Linked DNA regions of Homo sapiens: all the other regions are linked to region 1. Evidence: promoter capture Hi-C in 16 types of primary human blood cells and fetal thymus (Javierre and others, 2016). All regions are on one chromosome and are shown on one strand. Each heading gives the region's core, a stretch centred on a gene start or on the middle of the fragment in contact. The rest is flanking DNA. Distances are from core to core; before and after follow the strand shown. Region 1 holds the start of SP4 (Sp4 transcription factor). Region 2 holds the start of MALSU1 (mitochondrial assembly of ribosomal large subunit 1). Region 3 overlaps NUP42 (nucleoporin 42). Region 4 overlaps KLHL7 (kelch like family member 7). Region 5 has its middle 2.9 kb from the start of HYCC1. Region 6 overlaps SNHG26 (small nucleolar RNA host gene 26).

Region 1 (3,184 bases), core at 262-2,761:
CCTGATTTAGTTTTTGTAGGAGATGCACTCCCGTTATTACTGCTGGAAGAACTAGACGAACTAGAGGCTGGTTGAGAAACGTTATTCTCTTTTGAAGCAGGAGGAGTGGAGGCAACAAGTTGCCAAGCGTTTCCAGCAAGTTGCGTTGTTACCAGTTCTAGCTGTTGTGGTTGATTTTGAAGTTGCACCAATCCTTGACTTGGATCTATAATAATTTGTTGTTGTCCAGTTGCTTGATTTTCACCAGGAGTCCCTATTTTGCTGCAAGTAGCTGCCAGTAAAGCCAGAGGAGAGGGCTGAGAGTCCTACCCAAAATGGGACGGTAAAGGAGAGGGGGGGGGGAAAAAAAGTGGGCGGATTTAGTGGAGGCCAGTAGTTGCCAGGGGGTTACTTATTTTGACAGCTCTACATAACAATTTAGGAAGCAGCAGAAATCAAAAAGAAATACGAACAAAAGTAGATAAGAACTATATGAATAAGGAAGCAAGTCCTATAATATCAAGTTTAAATAAAAGGAAATTTCTTTACAACTTTGTAAAGTGTTATGTTCCTAAACTCAAAATGCCCTTGGGAACACACACACCGTTTTCTTATAGTCTGAATTCCTGATGTAATTTTAAACAGCGTTATACCCTCAAAGAGGTGAAAACTTGATGAATTTACAATTTAAGTTCCACACTCTCAGAAAGATGCTTTGAGTGGATAAACATTTTATTCTGTTACTTCTGGACATTCAAAGGGCATAACTCCCTCTCTCTCCTAATGTGTCGTGATGAATTTTTTTAATTTGTTTGCTTTTACCTGGGAGCCTGAGGTTTTGGGTTTTTTATTGTTATTCTCTGGCTCAGAGGTTTTCCCTCCTTCTGTAGCCATCGCCGCTGCCGCTGCCGCCTCCTCCTCCTCCTCCTTCTTCTGATCTGCAACAAACCCCCCCACCACACACACACGACAACAGGTTATTAGGATTATTATTATTCGTCTTCTTCCTCTCCTCTTCTCCCCCCTCCCCCCGAACATTAATCTCCATAAACCCGCGATCCACGCACACCGGCAGGGGGTGGGGGAGAAGGAGGGAAGGGAGGAGGGGGATATCACAAAACGTGGTTTGAAACCCGACCCATCGGCTCCAGAGCAACACCCAGAAGGAGGTTGTTCTCTCTCAGACATTAAGACAAAACACAACCCTCCTTCCCTCCCCGATTCCCTCCCGCCCTCTCCTCCTCCCCTTAAAGCATCTCAGCGGCCCCGGGGGAGGGGGGAGAACCGAGCAGGGTCTGGGGAGGGAGGGAGAGAGGGAGGCGGCGAAGGAGACTGAGGGGGGTGGAGAATACGTACCGCTCATCCCGCATTAACAGGACAAACCCTCAGACGGAGACACTGGGATAGAGGTGGGTGGGGGTGGGGGCGAGGCGGGAGGAGAGGCCGGTCCCGCCCGCCCGCGGTGGCTCGGAGGAGGCTGTAGCTGGCACAGGCTCTGCCTCTTTTTCCGCGAATGGCCGCCGCTGGGCTGTGGCGTAGCAGCTCCTCTCTCCGCCCGAGCCCGGCTGACTCGCCCTTGATTGACAGCGGCGGCGCGCGGCGCGGGCGGCGGCGCGGGTCGGGGGCGGGGCCAGGGCGGTGCGAGCCTGGCCGACTCCCCACCCCCCTCGGCCTCTCTCCGCCGGAGCCTCCGACTCTCCACCCCTTCCCCCAGCGGATTGGCCGCCGACCTGCCGGGGGCCGGGGCGCTGGGGCCGCCTCCTCTCCACCCCCTTTCTCGGGGTTATTCCTTTAGCAGCTCTTCTCCTCCTCCCTGGCTCCTCTGGCGCTCTTTCTCTCGGCGTTCTAGCTCAGGAGCGCTGCCGGTAGGCCCTCCATACAGCCAAACTTGTTGTCTCAGGATATCCCGCCCCCTACTCATTTCCCAGCGCCCTCCACTCAAAAACCCCCTCCAGCAATCCCTCCAATTGCCACTAAAGAAAAAAGTAGGGCCCTTGATCCAGGCAAGCGAGAGCGGCGGACGTGGGCGCGCGCGGACCACCAACAGGTCGGCGCGCTGGGTGAACTGCCCGCTGCCCCCGCGCAGGGAGCATGGCTTTCCTGAGGCGCATCCGGACCCGGGCGCCCTTTTTCCCTGGCTCTGTCTCCATTGGCTGAGCCCAGGGTGACGCGCGCTGAGTGGTGGGAGAAAGGGGGTGGGGCACTACCGCGAAGGCTGTCGGTACTCGTAGTTTCCGGCGGTCGCGGTGCCTTCTTCGAGGCACCGCCTCTCTCCCGCCCCCGACCGAGGCCTGGCTGCCGAGCGGAAAGCTGCCCGAGGGGGCGGTGGCGGCAGGGCGTGGCCGGGGCCGAGTGGGAGTTGAACTGAGCGAGGAGGAGGGGGAATGGGTGTTGTTTGCCTGGGCCTATCCGCCGCGCGGGGCTGCCCAAACCACCTCTGCCGCCGCCTCCTCGGCTCCAAGCCGCTCCCCGCGGGGCGAGCTCACACCCGGAGCGCTCGGCGATTGAGCGGGCGGCGGCGTGGGGAGGCGGGGTTTGCTGTCCTCGGGGTTTGAATGAACCCGGCTTCTTGAAGCAGCGCCCTCGCCTTGCCTTTCTTTGCTCACCTTCCCCTCAGGCCCCCTGCTTTGAGTCCGAGGCCTGTTTTCTCACGGAGAAGGATCTTCCATTTTTATTTGTTGTCTCTCTGGCTGGCAGCTGGTGCAGAGCAGTGACCCGCCTTCTAAGAAGGGTTGCATCGCGTTTTGCCTAAAAGCCTAAGTGGTTGGCGGAGTTCTAAGCCTTATCTGACAAGAGTCTCCGGGCGAAGAAAAGCCCAGCTCCATAAGGGTCAGCCCCGCTTACGGTGTAGCGTAAGCAAGCGTAAGGGCAAGTGGAATTAACATCTGGCTGCACAAAGCATCTTACTGTCAAATGCACTTGAGCAGTGTCCTGCCTCAGCTTTCCTACAAAGTCCTGAAGTCAGGATGATGCCATGGAACGTAATCAGCGCCTGATTAACTGTACCAAAGGTGGAAGTGACCCCACATGTAAATACTGGCCTTGGGAACAAGGCATGCTTACACCCCAGGCTCAAAGCCATTGTCTCACTTCTTACCTGGGCTTCACACTCAGCCTTGGGCATTTTTGTCTCCTGCCTGAGGCCTGACATGTTGCAATGGTGAGGAGGTCCCAGATGCTGAACTTGACTGGCATTTCCTTTGCT
Region 2 (3,184 bases), core at 319-2,818, 1.9 Mb before region 1:
GTCTCTTGCATTTTCTTGCCTCAGAAGTGAAACCATCATATCGATGTCAAACTTGGGACCAGTATGATCTGAAATGCACAAATAGTTGTTTGTATCAGGATGGCCAAGCAGATAGACGTGTATGCACCCAGAGATGCCGGCAGCTGACTGTTCCTCCATGAGGGTGTTTAGATCCAAAGTGTTTTTACAGATAGCAGGGTAAAGGCCTCCTGGAAGGTGAACCTGGGCAGTAGTATCATAGCACCGCTCAACTTTTATGGTCAGGGTGCTCAGATTACGCAGAGCCACTATACATCCTTCGCTATTAACCATATGCAAGTAGAACCAGACACCAGTGACAAATGACTTTCTACTAATACTTAAAAGGAGCAATACACCACAATCACAGAAATGCTGTGCAAAGAAAAACAGCACCACAAAATGGGTAGGAGGTGATATCCTGGAGCATATTAAATTGAATCTCAGTCATAACGGGTCACAGAATTGTGAGCTGGAAGGGCTCTTAGGCAGTATCTGGTCCACAACCTTCAGTTGAGAGATGAAGAAACTGAGGCCTAGGAGAATTACTGTGGCCTAAGATCAGTCACTGAAAGAGCTACATTTTTGAGTAATTATTATTTTGAACCTTCCAGTTTTCATATAAAACCACCGGGTTATTAACAACTGTTACCTATGAAAATCTAATTTTTTTTCCCGTAAAGATTTAGATATTCTGATCTTCAGCTTGGAGTATTACAGGCTGTAAATTTAAAAGCTCGCCCAAGTTCTAAAGCCGACTCCAAAGGACCTAGTAGCTAAGCCCACTAAGGCCTCTCCCTCTCATACTCTACATTCTTAGATGTGATCTGTTTACCATTCTTAAGTTTCTAAAAACGTCAGCAATAACTAGAGGATATTAACTTGGACCCATCTCCTACTGGCGCTTCCTACGCACCCCTTCGCACCCAGACCCTGGCTCCTCAGAATCCTCAAGCCCCAACAGTCCCCACAAACCCATTTCCCAGGATCCTAGGAAGAGGGTAAAAGGAAGTGAGGACGGTGAGACTGTGATGCCAAGGGTGGGAGATGGCCGTCCGGGAGGCTGGGATTCTGCAGTTCATCTCTTGCCCTCAATTTCTTCACTGTGAAACGGGAAGGTTGGCGCCAACAACCTTTGAAGTCCCTTCCAGCTCTGGATGTGCAGGAGTTTTGTGACTCCAAGAGAAATGCACATAGAGGGGAACCCAGAGCCACCTTGGCTGGGACCTGACTCCAGACTGCCCGGAGAGGGTCGCCTTCGTTCTTCTCCACGCCCGTACCTGCCGCGTCCGATTCTGGGCGTCCCTCGTTGACCGTCCCCTCCGCCCGCTCCTCCAGCCCAGGCTCGCTGTGCAGGCCGCGGACAAAGTTTGGGGTCTGGCAAGCCCGGCAGAACGCTGCTCCTACGGGAAGCCGCTGCACGGCCAGCAGCCGAAGCCCGGGCTCGGCTCCAACCGCGGACCCCGCCACCGAGGAAACCGCCCTGCGCCACATTAGTGGGGCGAGCAGCCGCGCCACACGGCCGCCCGGCCCCATAGCAGCAGCCTTGCGTCGGCGTCGCGGGTGGGTGGTACTTCATGGAGCCCGGCCGGGAAATTCTACGTCGATGCGTGGGCGGAGTCAAGGCCTGAAGGACGGACCATGGGCGGAGTCTGGAGCCCGTGAAGACTGCAGTGACCCGGAAGAGCTACTTGGGGATTAGGGCGTGCGGGAATAAAGAACTAGTGTTGCTTGCCCACCTTGCTTTGCTTTGTGTCGCAGTAGCGCATTACGTTGTCACTTTTTTTTTGGACTCTGTCCACTAATGTGAGGCTCATGAAGGCAATAATTTTTGTTTCATTTTTAACTCTTCTCTCCACAGCACCTAAAACAGTTCCTGGTACTGAATGTCCAGAAGTTGCTGTTAATCTGATTAGGCTGGGATTAGGACATATAATCTACCCTCTCTCATTACCAGAAAATATTCAAGATTCCCTTGCAAATTTGAAATTGCGCGAGGAAAATCTGTTATCCTGGGCTAGAGTGGGGTGGGAGGCAGAGGTGTAAAGGACCATTTGGAAACCGTTCTTAGGTCAGCCCATCATCTACACTCCCTGTATGGAGGAGTTTACGCCCAGGGGCGGTACTGTGGGGACCAGCTCTGTAAGAATAAGGAATTCTGAGGTGCCAGCTGCGGTATTAAGTCACAGGACTTGAGAACTGCGATAGATTCCTGGCACGGGTGGGGGGGTGGGGGGTTTTGGGGGCGTGGGACGCCGCAGGGAAGCAACTTGCCCAGGTCATACACTTACTGACTGCGTCAGAATCAGAAGCCAGTTTCTGGCTTCTGAACTCCAGGCCTGCTAACTGCTGAAAGGAAGGCTTCATAGAGAGCAAATATTTCAAATGCCTGAAACAGTGCCAGACACATAGCAGGCACTCCAAAAATGTTTGCTACATTATTTTAAATAATTCCAAGCACTAATTTTGGGAAGTTTTTTAAAAATAGAGAAATTAAGCATTTGTGTATATCACACCAGATATGTACAACCACTTCAAGTTATTTTTGAAAAGAAGAAAAACATTACAGATTAAGTTTCCTCTGTCCAATTTTAGCCCCATCCTCAATTCCATTTTTCCACAGGCATGAACTTGGCTTTTCTCCCAGCTTCTGGCATCCATTCCGTGTTCCCACCCTTCTCTGAACATCCCAGACCTGCTTTACCACCTGTATTTGCCAGCTCATTTAATGGGTCATTATCCCTTCAAAACTCCCAAACCCTAGACTTCATTCAGTCCAGGATCTTCATACAACAAACGAATCTGTTGTCAAAATCCTGCTTATGTGACCTCCAAAATGTTTCTGTGAGTTCAGCTTCTTGTCTTCATTTCCACTGTTTCTTCCTTAGTCCACACCCTCATTAGTTCTTGCCTAATTACAGAGACTGCCTCCTACCTGGCTTTCCTGTCTCCAGTCTGTTTCTACTCTTTTCATCCTCCATGCTGCCCTTCTATCAACTACAATCATTTTCGCTTTATCTGCTTTTTGCTGTTTTTCAAACTCACCATACCCTTTTTTATTTTTATTTTTTAAAGAGATGGGGTCTTACTCTTGTCACCCAGACTGGAGTACAGTCACACAATCATAGCTAACTACATCCTCAAACTCCTGGGCTCAAGCGGTGCT
Region 3 (3,184 bases), core at 586-3,085, 1.8 Mb before region 1:
AGATATTCACAATATAGTGTTATCAACACAAAGTGGAAAAAGCGTAATTACCCCTAGGAAGGCACTCTACTATTATAGAAAGATGATATATTTTTAAGTGAAATAAAATCTAGGGTAATACACAGCAAAAGAGTGGCTATCTATGAGTGATAGAATTGTGGGTGATTTTTCTTCTTTTTGCTACTCTGATTTAAAAATAATGCATTATTTCTTTTTTTAAAGAAAATATTGTATTGTGAAAAGATGTTACAAAAAAAGAGAAACAACAAAGATTGTAGGTGAAAAAACATAAGCAAATGGATAGTAATTTTCCTGAAAACTTTCACTTACAGAAGTTTCTTTTCATCTTTCTGCTCATCAGGACTAAGTGAAGCAAATGGGTTCTCAGACAATCCAAAGCCTTCCTTCCTGTTAGTTGAAGCTCCAGAATCAAAAGAACTGAAATATGGCTTTTCTTGATCTCTGCTGCCCCCCCATGGTGTGGATTTGGAGAAACTGGATGGCTGGATGACATTGGAATATCTCTGGCTAGTTGTATTCCATCCACGTCTATTATTACCTAAAATAAACAATAAAACAAAATAATTTTACTAGCAACTTTTCTTTCTATTTTCTTTTTAATTGAGATAGGGTCTCACTCTTTTGCCCAGGGTGGAGTACAGTGGCATGATCTTGGCTCACTGTAACCTCAACCTCCTAAGCTCAATCGATCCTCCCACCTCAGCCTCCTGAGTAGCTGGGACCACAGGCGCAAACCACCATGTCTGGCTAATTTTTGTACTTTTTGTAGAGATAAGGTCTTGCCATATTGCCCGGGGTTGGTCTCAAACTCCTGGGCTCAAGAGATCCACCTGCCTCAGCCTCCCAAAGTGCTGGAATTATAGGCATGAGCTACTGTGCCCAGCAACTGTTCTTTAAAATCTCAAAAATCTTCATTATATCTTAGTATGTCTAGACAATATAGAAAGATTCAACAAGCACTACATTTAAACTCATTTTAAATGACAATCTCTTCATTTTTTATTTATATACAGTAGTTAGGTTGTAATATCAACAAATCACATAGTGGCCAATTGCATTTTTGTTTGAGATTGAGAAGAAAATAATATAGAAAAATAGTGATATATTACTAAATTCAGCTGACAAAGCTTATTAAATGAACAACTGCTTGATAGTTAAAAGTTGACAGAAGGCATGCATCATAAATCATAAACTCCTTCAGGATAAAAACTTGGGTTTTTATCATTCTTTGCTCCCCCACCAGGCCCTATACTGTAGTAAAGGCTGAAAAATGGACATTGAATTAAAGTTTCTCGAATATGAAAGATTACATTCTACCCTCTGTTTTTGTACAGATGCTTAAGTCTATTTGACGCAGTCTTTTCTCTGGGCAAACACCTACACACCTATTTTCACAGAGAGATTATACATGGTATTTACATGTGTACAGAATGCATGTAGTTCCTCTACCAGCTTTCCAATATTTCATAAATATCAAAATGAGCCAAAAAGATTCTCTCCTCTCTTTATATATTGGTTTTGTTTTGTTTTTTAAAATCATTTTAGCAATCTCATTTACTCATCACTTCCTAGTTGGGGCCAAGATTAAGGTAATTCATCTTGTTTCTGACTGAATAAAGAGATAAGCCATTAATTATATTAAAAGTTAGAATGACACACATGCCCAGTTGTGAAAGTTCATCCTGCAACTCTAAACTACCCTAAAAAAAAAAAAAAAAAAAGTGGAGATTGCTAGACCAGATCCCTCAAGTAGAAGTTAATGGTATCTTCTTCTTCTAAAGTTCCAAATTCACTGGGGGATGATACAACTGAAGAAACTCACTTCCTCCTTTTTTTTTTTTTTTTTTTTTTTTACATTGCTTTTGGTCTTCATACTTATAATTCCAGAAACATTCATTTGTTTCTGGGAGCTAAATACAATTTGTCTGCCAAATTTTGTTTACACTCACATTCATCAGACATGAGTCCTAATTTTCGGTCTGAAATATTTCACTAGATTAATTGTGGAGGAAATAAAAGGACTGTCTTCCCTGAAGTGGGATCAGACGTGAAACCATCACGCAATACAAGGTTTAAAGGTTAGATGAGGCCCGCCGCGGTCGCTCACGCCTGTAATCCCAGCACTTTGAAAGACGGAAGCGGGAGTATCACCTTAGGTCACGAGTTCGAGACCGGTATGGCCAAAATGGCAAAACCCTGTCTCTACTAAAAATACAAAAATTATCAAGGGCATGGTGGCGGGCACCCGTAATCCCAGCTACTCGGGAGACTGAGGCATAAGAATCGCTTGAGCCTGGGAGGCGGAGGTCGCAGTGAGCCGCCTGACTGAGAGAGCAAGACTCCGTCTCAAAATAAAATAAAAAAATAAAGGTCAGATGAATAGCCCTAAAGGAGGGGAAGGAAGGGAGACAGCACCGAATTATTAACCCGATCTTTAAAAATCTTGTGTTGTTCTAAGGTTTCATGTCTAATCTCTCCTTTCCTTGAAGATAAAAAGCTTTGACAATGATCTAGGCCCAGGGACTAGATCAACGTGGCCCCCGCATCTCCTTTCCTCACCTCCCGGATAGCCCTTAACTGGGCGTCCCACATTCCCAATTTCACCCCAAATTTATGAGCAGGTGCATTTTTGCGGTATGGCTCTATAGGTTTTATTAGATTTTCTTTTTTTCTTTTCTTTCTTTCTTTTTTTTTTTTTGATAGTCTCGCTCTGTCGCCCAGGCTGGAGTGCAGTGGCACGATCTCGGCCCACTGCAACCTCCACCTCCCGGGTTCAAGCGATTCTCCTGTCTCAGCCTCATGAGTAGCTGGGATTACAGGCGCGCGCCACCACGCCCGGCTATTTTTTTTTTTTTTTTTTTTTTTGGTATTTTTAGTAAAGACGGTGTTTCACTATGTTGGTCAGGCTGGTCTCAAACTCCTGACCTCGTGATCCGCCCGCCTCGGCCTCCCAAAGTGCTGGGATTACAGGCGTGAGCCACCGCCCGGCCGGTTTTATTAGATTTTTTCAAAGAAGTCCACGACTTCTCCAAAATGAAGTCCTGATTCTGACCCAAGCTGCTAGCCTCACCCTCGAAAAAACAACTTAGTAAAAATTATATTCAATTCCGGCATTTACCTACAAGGTAGTTTCGATAGGTACTTCCGATTTAAAAACTCAGTT
Region 4 (3,184 bases), core at 300-2,799, 1.7 Mb before region 1:
GAACAGTTATAAGTGCTCAAGAAGTCTTATTAATATCAAGGGTTTAACACTGAAGGTTTAGATTATTCACAAGAGAACCTAAAGATAATGACATGTAGTAATTTACAGTCAGACAGATGAGAATACAGAAGCAAAGTCATTTTAGCCGGAAGGTGAGCCCAGTTAACTGCCCAGTATCTAATTGTGAAATCAGCTTTGTAGTTCTCTCACATAACTCTCAATAAGGACTTTAACATAAGCTTTCAAGTTCCAGTTATGCTTTAATTCATTTAATGTGGAGAAACTATAAACTATGGTGGTACTCAGGAAGGTCTTAAAACATCTTCCTCCAATGTTAAGAGACTCCTGGACTTCATTAACACAAAAGAAGAGTATGGCAACAGCAATGTGCATGTGCAATAGTGACTGTGACCCAGACCTGCCTTGTAAAGCCTCTATTTTACATATCAGGTAATAACATTAATCTAAGCAAAAAGTTAAAGAAATAAATGAAAAGGTACTCAATCCAATTAAATAAGATGCTCCTATACACCCAGTTAGAATGGCTAAAGTGATAAGACTGACAACATCAAGTGATGGCAGGGATGCGGAGCAAAAACCTCTCTCACACACAACTGGCAGAAGCGTAACATGGTACAATCACTTTGGAAAACTACACGACGATATCTTTTAAAGCTGAAGGTGGTATAGCTTATGACTCAAAAATTCCTGTTTGGTATTTCCCAACACAAATATTAATACATACATATGCATACCAAAAGGCATGTACAAAGTGTACAAAAATGTTCAAAGTAGTACTAGTCTTAATAGTTCCAAACTAGAAATAACCCAAATGTTCATAATGATAGAATGGATAAATTGTGCTATATTCATTCAATGGGATACTATATACCACAAGGATGAAGTAGCGCTACACACAGCACAGATGAATCTCACAAACAATGTTGGCTTTAAGAAAACAAAACACAAGAGTTTATGCCATATGATTACATTTATATAAGTTCAAACACAGGAAAAACCCACTTTTTGCCGATGTGCTGCAGACTTTCATGAATGCACCACACACCAAAGACAGAACAAAGAGCTCCTCTTAATAACAGGGGTGCATAGTGCCCTTAGAAGATGGCATGGCATGGTATTTATCAATGGTTGCTTCTGCTCTAACTTCGATGGTTACAGAGTTAGAATAGTTGTTACTACTGTGGGGTTGGTGACTGAGAAGGGCATAAGGGGGGACCTCTGGTGTACTGGTCATGTTCTCGTCTTGTTGGTGGGATGTGCACTTTGTAATAATTGAGCTATACATTTATGATTTGTGCCCTCTTATATGTATCCCATACTTCACTGGAGAGTTTACTTAGAAACAAAAGGCTAGAAATGACAAAAACAATGTAGGAAAAGGCTTTAGAAGAAGCCGAGGCTGCTGGCTCTGCAGAATCCCCTTTTGCCTCTATGTATAGAATCGGCCACTATACTACAGAGAGATGGAATGACCCAAATCATGTTATCTAAAATAACAAAATGAAATAATGAGAGAGCAGGATTGGAACTGAGGTATGCTAATCTCACAATGTTCTCAAATTCTTGAAGGAATGTTTCTGGATGTTTACAGAGGGGTCCTTGTCATCTAGGCACTCATTATCCTGATCCTTAAAGCAATGAGATTGTAAAGGGATGTAAAAGTAGTCATAACACAAAAATATTTACTAAAGAACAAGAGCACTTATAAAGTTGGTCCTCACTCAAACATTCCTACTCTGGCTCAGACCAGCCACTGTTTCTGCCAATTCCCATCAACTGCCCTTGTCAGTCATTCTCGGTCAATTGTTTCCTGTGTTATGATGTTAAACAGGACAATACAATATAACCATAATGTAAATCAATTGCGAAGTGAAACTGCACATCTTGCAAAAGATGCATGATTCCATGAAGTTGATAAAAGTGCTATTGGAGAACTGTTTGAATCACATGCCAAACCACTGACAACAGGAGAACCTGGCAGATTAAGGTCAGTTAATCATTGTGGAGGGGACCCCTGGTTGTTCACCAGGTAACCATTTTTTCCTTCCTACTCAGTAACAGAACCCTGATTTTTCAGTAATTGTACTTCTATTGTAACGGTAAATAAGTGATGTTAATATACTCCAAAGCTAAGAAATGTGAGTCACTTTTTAAATCCAAAGAGCTAAACGGACAGTCTCAGATAATCCTCTGCTCCTCAAGTAAATATTTGCTGCTGCAATCCAGTTTCACCCTATTTAGGGATTAAGGCAATGCTTTACAATGCTATGATCCACGAATGAAAACATATATTCGAGGGAGTGGGAGGGAACCTAATGAGTCTTCAACGAGTTTAAGCCCTGGTTAACTATGTTCAACTACCATTACAGGCAGGCAATAGCTAAATGCACCAGCAATTTGAAGTCTGTGGTATTGTAGATACAAAAAGGTTTACATGAAAGGAACATGAATTTGAAAATAGATACATGAAAGTCAGTTACATAAATTAACGAATTCAGGCATTCACAGTACTTCAGCACAAAGGCCAGGCCAGGAAAGATTTAAAAGCATTCCCACAGACTGCACTGGTGCACTGTAGCAGGAGCTGGTGAACAAAGACAAAATCCCAGCAGTCAGCGTTTGCTTATAGAAACCAGAAGTTAATATCTTCATAAAAATCTTAAATTCCTCTACTGTTGCCCATATTCCCAGCAGAACCACCAGACAAAGCAAACTAGGTTTTGCAGTTACACATAACTCACATCCTGCTTTGTCCCCTTGAAACAGGATCCCAGTCAACAAAACCCAAACATTCCCACAAATCTACTTAGATGTGTATTATCTATAAATAAAGCTTACAGAAAGGAAAAAGTGACTTTCTATGCTTATCGGTGTAGATGTTATGGAATTAAAAAAAAAAAAAGCCTCTTTGTTTCACCTTCGCCAGCGTTAAAATCCGTTCTTTTCATAACCCACCTTTCGCCGATGTGCTGCAGAATTTCACGAATGCACCACACACCAAGGACAGAACAAAGAGCTCCTCTTAATAACAGAGGCGCACAGTGCCCTTAGAAGATGGCATGGTATTTATCGATGGCTGCTTCTGCTCTAAATTAGCACGAACAGGAGGACTCCTCTTCAACTAGCTCCACCGGGGAACACAGGAGGGGGCGGGGATCCTTAT
Region 5 (3,184 bases), core at 331-2,830, 1.6 Mb before region 1:
ATGGCTCAGGTTGCTGCCTCAGCTGGGTCCACTGGCTGGGGTAGTTCCCTTAAAAAGGGAATCTGATATAGCAAGCCCTTGAATGACCTCTCAGGCACACTCTTTTTGTTTTGACTTCATTTCTTTGATTTTCTTTTTTCTTAAAGAATGTTTAACATACCACAAAAGCAACATTTTGACATATTTTTCATGTTTTTTTAAACAAAATTCTTTTTAATTTAAAATAATCATGTTATCTATTTTAACCATTTTAACAACAGTTGTTGTCCAATTGACTTTAATAGAAATATATAATATTTGAACTAGGCCGGGCATGGTGGCTCATACCTATAATCATAGCACTGTGGGAGGCCAAAGTGGGCAGATCACTTGAGGCCAAGAGTTCGAGACCAGCCTGGCCAACATGGTGAAACCATGTTTCTACCAAAAAAATACAAAAATTAACCAGGCACGGTGGCACACACCTGTAGCCCCAGCAAGTCAGGAGGCTAAGGTACGAGAATCGCTTGAACCCAGGAGGTGGAGGTTGCAGTGAGCTAAGATGGTGCCACTGCACTCCAGCCTGGGTGACAGAATCAGACTCTGTCTCAAAAACAAAACGAAACAAAGAAAGGAAAAGAAAAAGAAAAAAAGAGAAAGATATTTGAACTAAATTTTTCTTAAAATTCCTGAAATTTAATGTCATAGGGAAAATGTTTATGTTTATAATGTTCAACTGGCACTTTTATACAGTTATTTGCAAGAAGATAAATGCATTTTAATAGTTACTTTAGAATTATGCGTGTGGATATCAGAGACTAGCAAAGATGAGCAGGAAAGATCTGGAATATGTTGACTTTTATAAAGTAGGTTAAAAGCATTTTCCTTTTGAAACAGAATGTTCTCTTAGGCATTTTTTCTGGTGCTTTGCGATTAAAATATAAACGGCTATGTGTAAAACTTAACTGCAGACTGTTATTGTTGGAAATTATTTTTATATGCACAAATTGTGATGGAAAGGAGAGTAGACTGGAAACATAAATTTGTGCTTTCGTTTTACTCTGACTTAGAGGGAAGACAACTTAAATTGCCTTCTATACTACCTTACCACTGCAAAATGGGAAGTGAAGTCAGGCAGTAAACTGCTTCCTGTCTTCTTGCAGGAAGGAAACAAATTATATATAAATATACATAGCCAAACTTCAGTTTCTCTCCACTCAATCTATCCTATGCACGGCACTGATTTGGCACTAGTAACATGTTATATTATTTCCCTTTTGTCAACCTTGGGTGTATATTAGAACCACTTGGGAAGCTTTTTTAAAAACCCAATGACTAGCCTCACACACCAATTTATTTATTTATTTACTGTGGGGTGCGGTTTGAGTACTGATAATTTTGAAAGGCATCCTAAGTGATTCTAATGAGCAGACAGGAAGCCACAAGGCAAAAGGAGAAAATCTGAACAACTGAGCTTGCCTTCAAGGTGTTCTATTATCTATCTGCAACCTAGCTTGCCAGGCTTGGCTGACTCAAGTTGCCTCCCATGCCCTCTGAACATTGCTTGTGCTTCCCCTCTTGTGTTATTTCTCCAGGCATTCTGGGAGTTACTTTCTCACCATTTTATCTGGTTCAAATTCCTCCCCAGTTTTCTAGACCCAGCCCATTTTGCCTTTTTCATGAAGCCTTCCCTGACTGCCCTTGACTGCAGTGCTTGCATCCTCCTCTGAAAACACAGCGGCTAATGCCTAGAAAATCATTTGAACAATGAATCGATTATGTACTGCCTTATGTAATCTCTCCACTGCTGCATTAAATAATTACTTTAATCTTTGCTTAACCTTTCATCTGTTTGTTATGCAGCTAACTATACTATAAGCAAGCTTCTAGCATTCATCTGTATCCTTGACAAGCCACGTGCCTTGTACAGTACAGGAAGTCAATAATATTTACCTGTCCCTTCCATCCTGACTTCCACAGGTTTGGTTCGAGATTCTCTCCTGGAATCTTGTCCTGGTCTTGGCTGGGCTTCCTGCCACCAGAAACTTTGGCTCTTCAAATCAGGTCAACACATTACTGGCACACATGGCCAATGGCCAGTAAAACTGATGGTGTGTGTGTGTGTGTGTGTGTGTGTGTGCATGCGCGTAGGTGTGCACTCTTTTGCCCACTCTTGTTTCTCTCTATCTTATGATCTGGCTGACTCGGTTTCTTTCCTTCCTTGGTCCCTCACTCTCCTACTCAATGGGACTTGACGGCAGAATTCAACGTCTCAGGTTTTGACTGCTTGTGTTCTCTAAGATGAATAACATGCTGCCTGGATCTTCCTCTCCCTATTTCTTTGAGTAAACACTTGTCCTGAACAGGCTCTGGCCAAGGGGACCTAAATTAAGTCAGTCTGATCTGTCAAGAATTTCCTCTCTACCCTGTTTTTTTTTCTTTGGATTCTCACCATTTAAAAGAAACCTGATTGCATTGTCCACATGATTAAAAGCTGTTGTCTGTCCCTCATTGCCTTAAGAAGAAAATCTAAACCTGAGCTATCCAATATGGGAGTTGTTAAAGTTAAAATTAAAAATTAATGCCAGACATGGTGGTTCACACCTGTAATCCCAGCACTTTGGGAGGCTGAGGTGGGTGGAGCACCTGAGGTCAGGAGTTCGAGACCAGCCTGGCCAACATGGTGAACCCCTGTCTCTACAAAAAATACAAAAATTAGCTGGGTGTGGTGGTGAGTTCATGTAACCCCAGCTACTCAGGAGGCTGAGGCAGGAGAATTGCTTGAACCTGGGAAGTGGAAGTGCAGTGAGGTAAGATCCCACCACTGTACTCCAGCCTGGGTGACAGAGGGAGACTCTGCCAAAAAAAAAAAAAATTAAAAATTGAGTTTCAGCCGTGTATGGTAGTTCATGTCTGTAATCCCAGCACTTTGGGAGGCTGAGGTGGGAGGATCACTTAAGCACTCTACCCCAGTTTGGGTGACAGAGTGAGACCTTGTCTCAAAAATAAATAAATAAATAAATAAATACATTGAGCTCTTCAGTCACACCACATTTCAAGTATTTGATAGCCACATGTGGCTAATGGCTACTATTTTGGACAACACAAATATAGAACATTTTCACCAGTGCAGAAAGCTCTGCTGGACAGTGCTTGTCTGAATATCTTAGTGTAGCTTGTGAGGTCTTTTACAATCTCACCTCAA
Region 6 (3,184 bases), core at 594-3,093, 1.4 Mb before region 1:
AAGTTTTTCCATTTTCAAGTGCTAATTTTATTCTTCTTTTCCCTGAAGGTCACATATGGTAAAACAGCAATACCTTTCTCTCTACTGGATAGTGAATCAACTGTTTTAGACCAGTACTGTCCAACAGAAATATAATACGCATCATGTATCATTAAAAAATGTATTTCATTTAACTCAATATATTCAAAACATCATTTAATTTGTAATCAATATAAAATTGAGATAGTTTACATTTTTTTCAAGTTAATTCTTCACTCCTGGTGTTTTTCACCCTTCAGCACATGTCAACTTGGTCTAGCCACATTTTAGGTACTCAATAGCACATGTGAATAGTGGCTACCCCATTGGACTGCAGTTTTAGATTCTGATTTCCAAAGTTCCACATATTTCTCACTGTGAGAGGCCTATAAATGATACAATGTGCTCTATTCTGCCTTAAAGAGTGGCAGTAACATGGCAGGGCACTTGTCCAGCTGCAAAATCAATGGTATGAGACTCCATTCCATCAGCTACAACATTCGGCTCTATTCCCAGAAACATACATCAAACTGATTAGACTGGATTTTGTCTTTGAAACAGATTAGTGTGGAGCTGTCCTGGAGATGGAGATGTCAACGGAGGATGATTCTGAGACAACTGGCCCCTTGCAGTGCAGATAAACTCCATTAGGGGGCCTTCTAGTCATGGTGGCATAATCCTGGATTGTGATTAATGACAATTTTGTAACAAAATATTGCCATCAGAACTTTCCAGTTTATGAATACGAGGTAAATTTTGGAAAGACAATCTTTTCTAGTACAAAATAAAAGTAAGCCTTTCGAACACATCTCTGGCTGTTCACAGAATGTGAGCATGGCTTTCGTCTCAAGAGGAAAAGTTACCCCTGGTTTTAGCTTGAAAATCAGCTGAGTAGGCCCAGGCCCACAGTGATCTGGTCCACTCACCTCCCTGCTCCAGAGGCAGTCTCCACTTTCTCTAGATCCCCATTTAGTTATGCAGACACCTTCTGTTCCATTCCTTTCTTCAAAGTAGAGTACTTGAGATCATGAAGGAAAGAAAGCTTACTCCTCGGCTTTAAAGAGCTTAGAATGCACATGACCACTCCCCTCCTCCATTAGAAAATTATGGCAATTGCCTGATTACTAACTTGCCAGTTGGCTCTTTGCTCTTAGGAAGCTCAGAGACAACTTGGCTGGAGCCTACAGCATGAGATCTAACAGTTAGGTTTTTTATTCTTGCCCTCTACTTGCTGAGCTTTTATCTGCTTCTAATTATTGTTGCTTGATATTTGTTATAAACCATGCTAAATTATTTTGGGAATGTGGTGGTGGGGGGGTAAAACTAGATTTTTTTTTTCAGTTTGCCCTAATAATTTAATCTTTCACATATTGACCCAGACATGAAATGAAATTATTCCTTACAACAGAAGTCAACCAGAGAACATTCTATTAAAACTGGCTCCGACTTACGTACTGAAATGAGTCACACTGTGAAAGCTCCAGAAAGGTAGGAACTGTCTCTATCACAGGACTTGACACAACACAACAGCAAATATTTGCCAAATTACACAATTAAGTATGTAAGGCTTAAGGACCTTCAAAAAGACACATATTTTAGTCTGGAATATTCACTTGAACTACAAAGATTTGGCTACTTTTAGGAAACAGAATCTATTTGTATCCAAGTGCTCAGGAACACCATGGAGTAAGACAAAATGGGATATGGCCATTCTCGAAATCAAATTGTGACTCAATCTACATGAACTGACATGTCAATGCCACAGTTGTTACACTGGGTCTTATTTACGTCACTATCTGGGGAGGTTTTGTGACCAGAGTTCTTAAATAAGATTTCCTATTTTCAATGAAATCATAACCACTAGCATAAAAATTCTATTTCCAATCACAATTTCTTTTATAGTCATAATTAAAGATTCACATGCCCAAGTTCCTCACTTGGAAGCCCTCTTTGAAAACTTTCAACTCCAGGTTTGCTTCTCTTCATGGCACTTGAGCACAAAAGGATGGTAGTTTAACAGTCCATTCCTGCTTTTAGCTCTGCTAAACACGTAGACAGGCAATGTACTAAGGTAAGCAAGTTGATTCTGCAGAACTGTGGTACTGACTGCAACCACTCATCCCATTTTCCTGGGTGATGCTATGTTTAACAGAGGTTCTATATTGGACAACTCTGCATTGCTAGGCTATAGGGTAAGGGGATTTGGTAGTGGGGGAGTGGCAGGGAAGGTATGAAACCTAGAATCCTAAGGGACATCTGAAGAACTCTGCTCATACGGGCAAGATGGCCTAACTCTGTTCATGTCAGAAAATGCTCTTGGTCACCAGGGCAGGGCTCAACAGGCCCTGTGGTTAGACCTATTACATACAGAAAAGAAGAATGACTCACAACCCATACTTGAATCTATCCCTCTTCTAAGAAGCACCCTTCATTACTCCAAGGAAATGAGGACAAGGAATGCAGACTGGCTTTTTAGCCAGCTTTTCAGAGTCAACCACGTAGTTTATGCAGCATCACCCCGTTTCAACCCAAGACCAATTACTCAGCCTCCTTTCATTTTTCAAATTTCTTGGTTAGCCAGTATTTACCAAGGACATCCTAAGCTTTCCTGAAATGGAAAACAGCCAATATGGAAAGTAATGCTGCAGGGAAGCCACAGTAGTATTCGGAATGGCGCACGGCAACATTTTCCATATCCCACTTTCTGCCATCTCATGCCCACAACAATGGATACATCAGAGGTGAGATTTAAAATGCTGCTGTGGATACAGCATTGTTGTTGCCATCCAGAAGGGGAATTTTTGCAGCACTGATGAGCGTGCCAATACACAACTGCCGTCTGGTCCTGCTTCTTGGGTATTTATTGTGTGCATGAGTCACTTCCGTGACTTATGTCCCAAGAGTGATTTTGATGTATTTTTGATTTTCCAACTTGGCAGTTCATGTAGATAGTGACCCCAAACCATCTTGCCATAGATTTCACTGGAAACACCACTGAAATGCCAAGGAGGGTTAAGTTTTTAAAGTCATGTTTATTGAAGTATGATTTTACATTCAGCAAAATTCATCCTGTTAAGGTTTGACAAACGCACAGTCATACCATAATCAAGATGCAGAACTGTAGAATCACACTAACAATTCCTTCCTGCCCTTGTAATCAACCCCT

What was found. Contacts are between HindIII fragments. The CHiCAGO score rates a contact against its expected background, and 5 or more counts as called.
Region 2: the fragment with the promoter of MALSU1 here is called in contact with the fragment with the promoter of SP4 in region 1 in 2 of 17 cell types (total B cells and neutrophils); the score reaches 8.0 in total B cells.
Region 3: a contact is called between a fragment that was not itself captured here and the fragment with the promoter of SP4 in region 1, in 1 of 17 cell types (naive CD8 T cells). The highest score is 6.1, in naive CD8 T cells.
Region 4: a fragment that was not itself captured here is called in contact with the fragment with the promoter of SP4 in region 1 in 3 of 17 cell types (total CD4 T cells, naive CD8 T cells and non-activated CD4 T cells); the score reaches 6.4 in total CD4 T cells.
Region 5: a contact is called between a fragment that was not itself captured here and the fragment with the promoter of SP4 in region 1, in 2 of 17 cell types (total CD4 T cells and naive CD8 T cells). The highest score is 6.5, in total CD4 T cells.
Region 6: a fragment that was not itself captured here is called in contact with the fragment with the promoter of SP4 in region 1 in 1 of 17 cell types (naive CD8 T cells); the score reaches 5.6 in naive CD8 T cells.

The regions. Positions count from the first base shown.
Region 1 is chr7:21,426,410-21,429,593 of GRCh38, reverse strand. It overlaps SP4 (Sp4 transcription factor), which reads right to left and starts at 1,511. Exons shown (of 6, transcript NM_003112.5): 1 at 1,336-1,511; 2 at 802-917; 3 at 1-305. The coding sequence starts at 1,342. RefSeq lists silencers at 1,218-1,807, 2,188-2,577. The HindIII fragment of the contact is 8,073 bases long and covers 1-3,184 here.
Region 2 is chr7:23,297,723-23,300,906 of GRCh38, reverse strand. It overlaps MALSU1 (mitochondrial assembly of ribosomal large subunit 1), which reads right to left and starts at 1,568. Exons shown (of 4, transcript NM_138446.2): 1 at 1,299-1,568; 2 at 1-68. The coding sequence starts at 1,554. RefSeq lists an enhancer at 1,262-1,751. The HindIII fragment of the contact is 9,022 bases long and covers 1-3,184 here.
Region 3 is chr7:23,182,445-23,185,628 of GRCh38, reverse strand. It overlaps NUP42 (nucleoporin 42), which reads right to left. Exons shown (of 7, transcript NM_007342.3): 2 at 331-559. Among named protein-coding and RNA genes, the nearest start is that of NUP42, 2.0 kb to the right of the region's middle. The HindIII fragment of the contact is 1,370 bases long and covers 1,151-2,520 here.
Region 4 is chr7:23,106,587-23,109,770 of GRCh38, reverse strand. All of the region lies in intron 1 of KLHL7 (kelch like family member 7), which reads right to left. Among named protein-coding and RNA genes, the nearest start is that of KLHL7, 2.4 kb to the right of the region's middle. RefSeq lists enhancers at 3,040-3,119, 2,825-3,184. The HindIII fragment of the contact is 2,615 bases long and covers 242-2,856 here.
Region 5 is chr7:23,015,435-23,018,618 of GRCh38, reverse strand. No RefSeq gene overlaps it. Among named protein-coding and RNA genes, the nearest start is that of HYCC1, 2.9 kb to the right of the region's middle. The HindIII fragment of the contact is 568 bases long and covers 1,297-1,864 here.
Region 6 is chr7:22,858,399-22,861,582 of GRCh38, reverse strand. SNHG26 (small nucleolar RNA host gene 26) reads right to left here. Exons shown (of 5, transcript NR_146320.1): 4 at 945-1,036; 5 at 147-697. Among named protein-coding and RNA genes, the nearest start is that of SNORD93, 3.4 kb to the right of the region's middle. RefSeq lists an enhancer at 1,874-3,073. The HindIII fragment of the contact is 1,561 bases long and covers 1,063-2,623 here.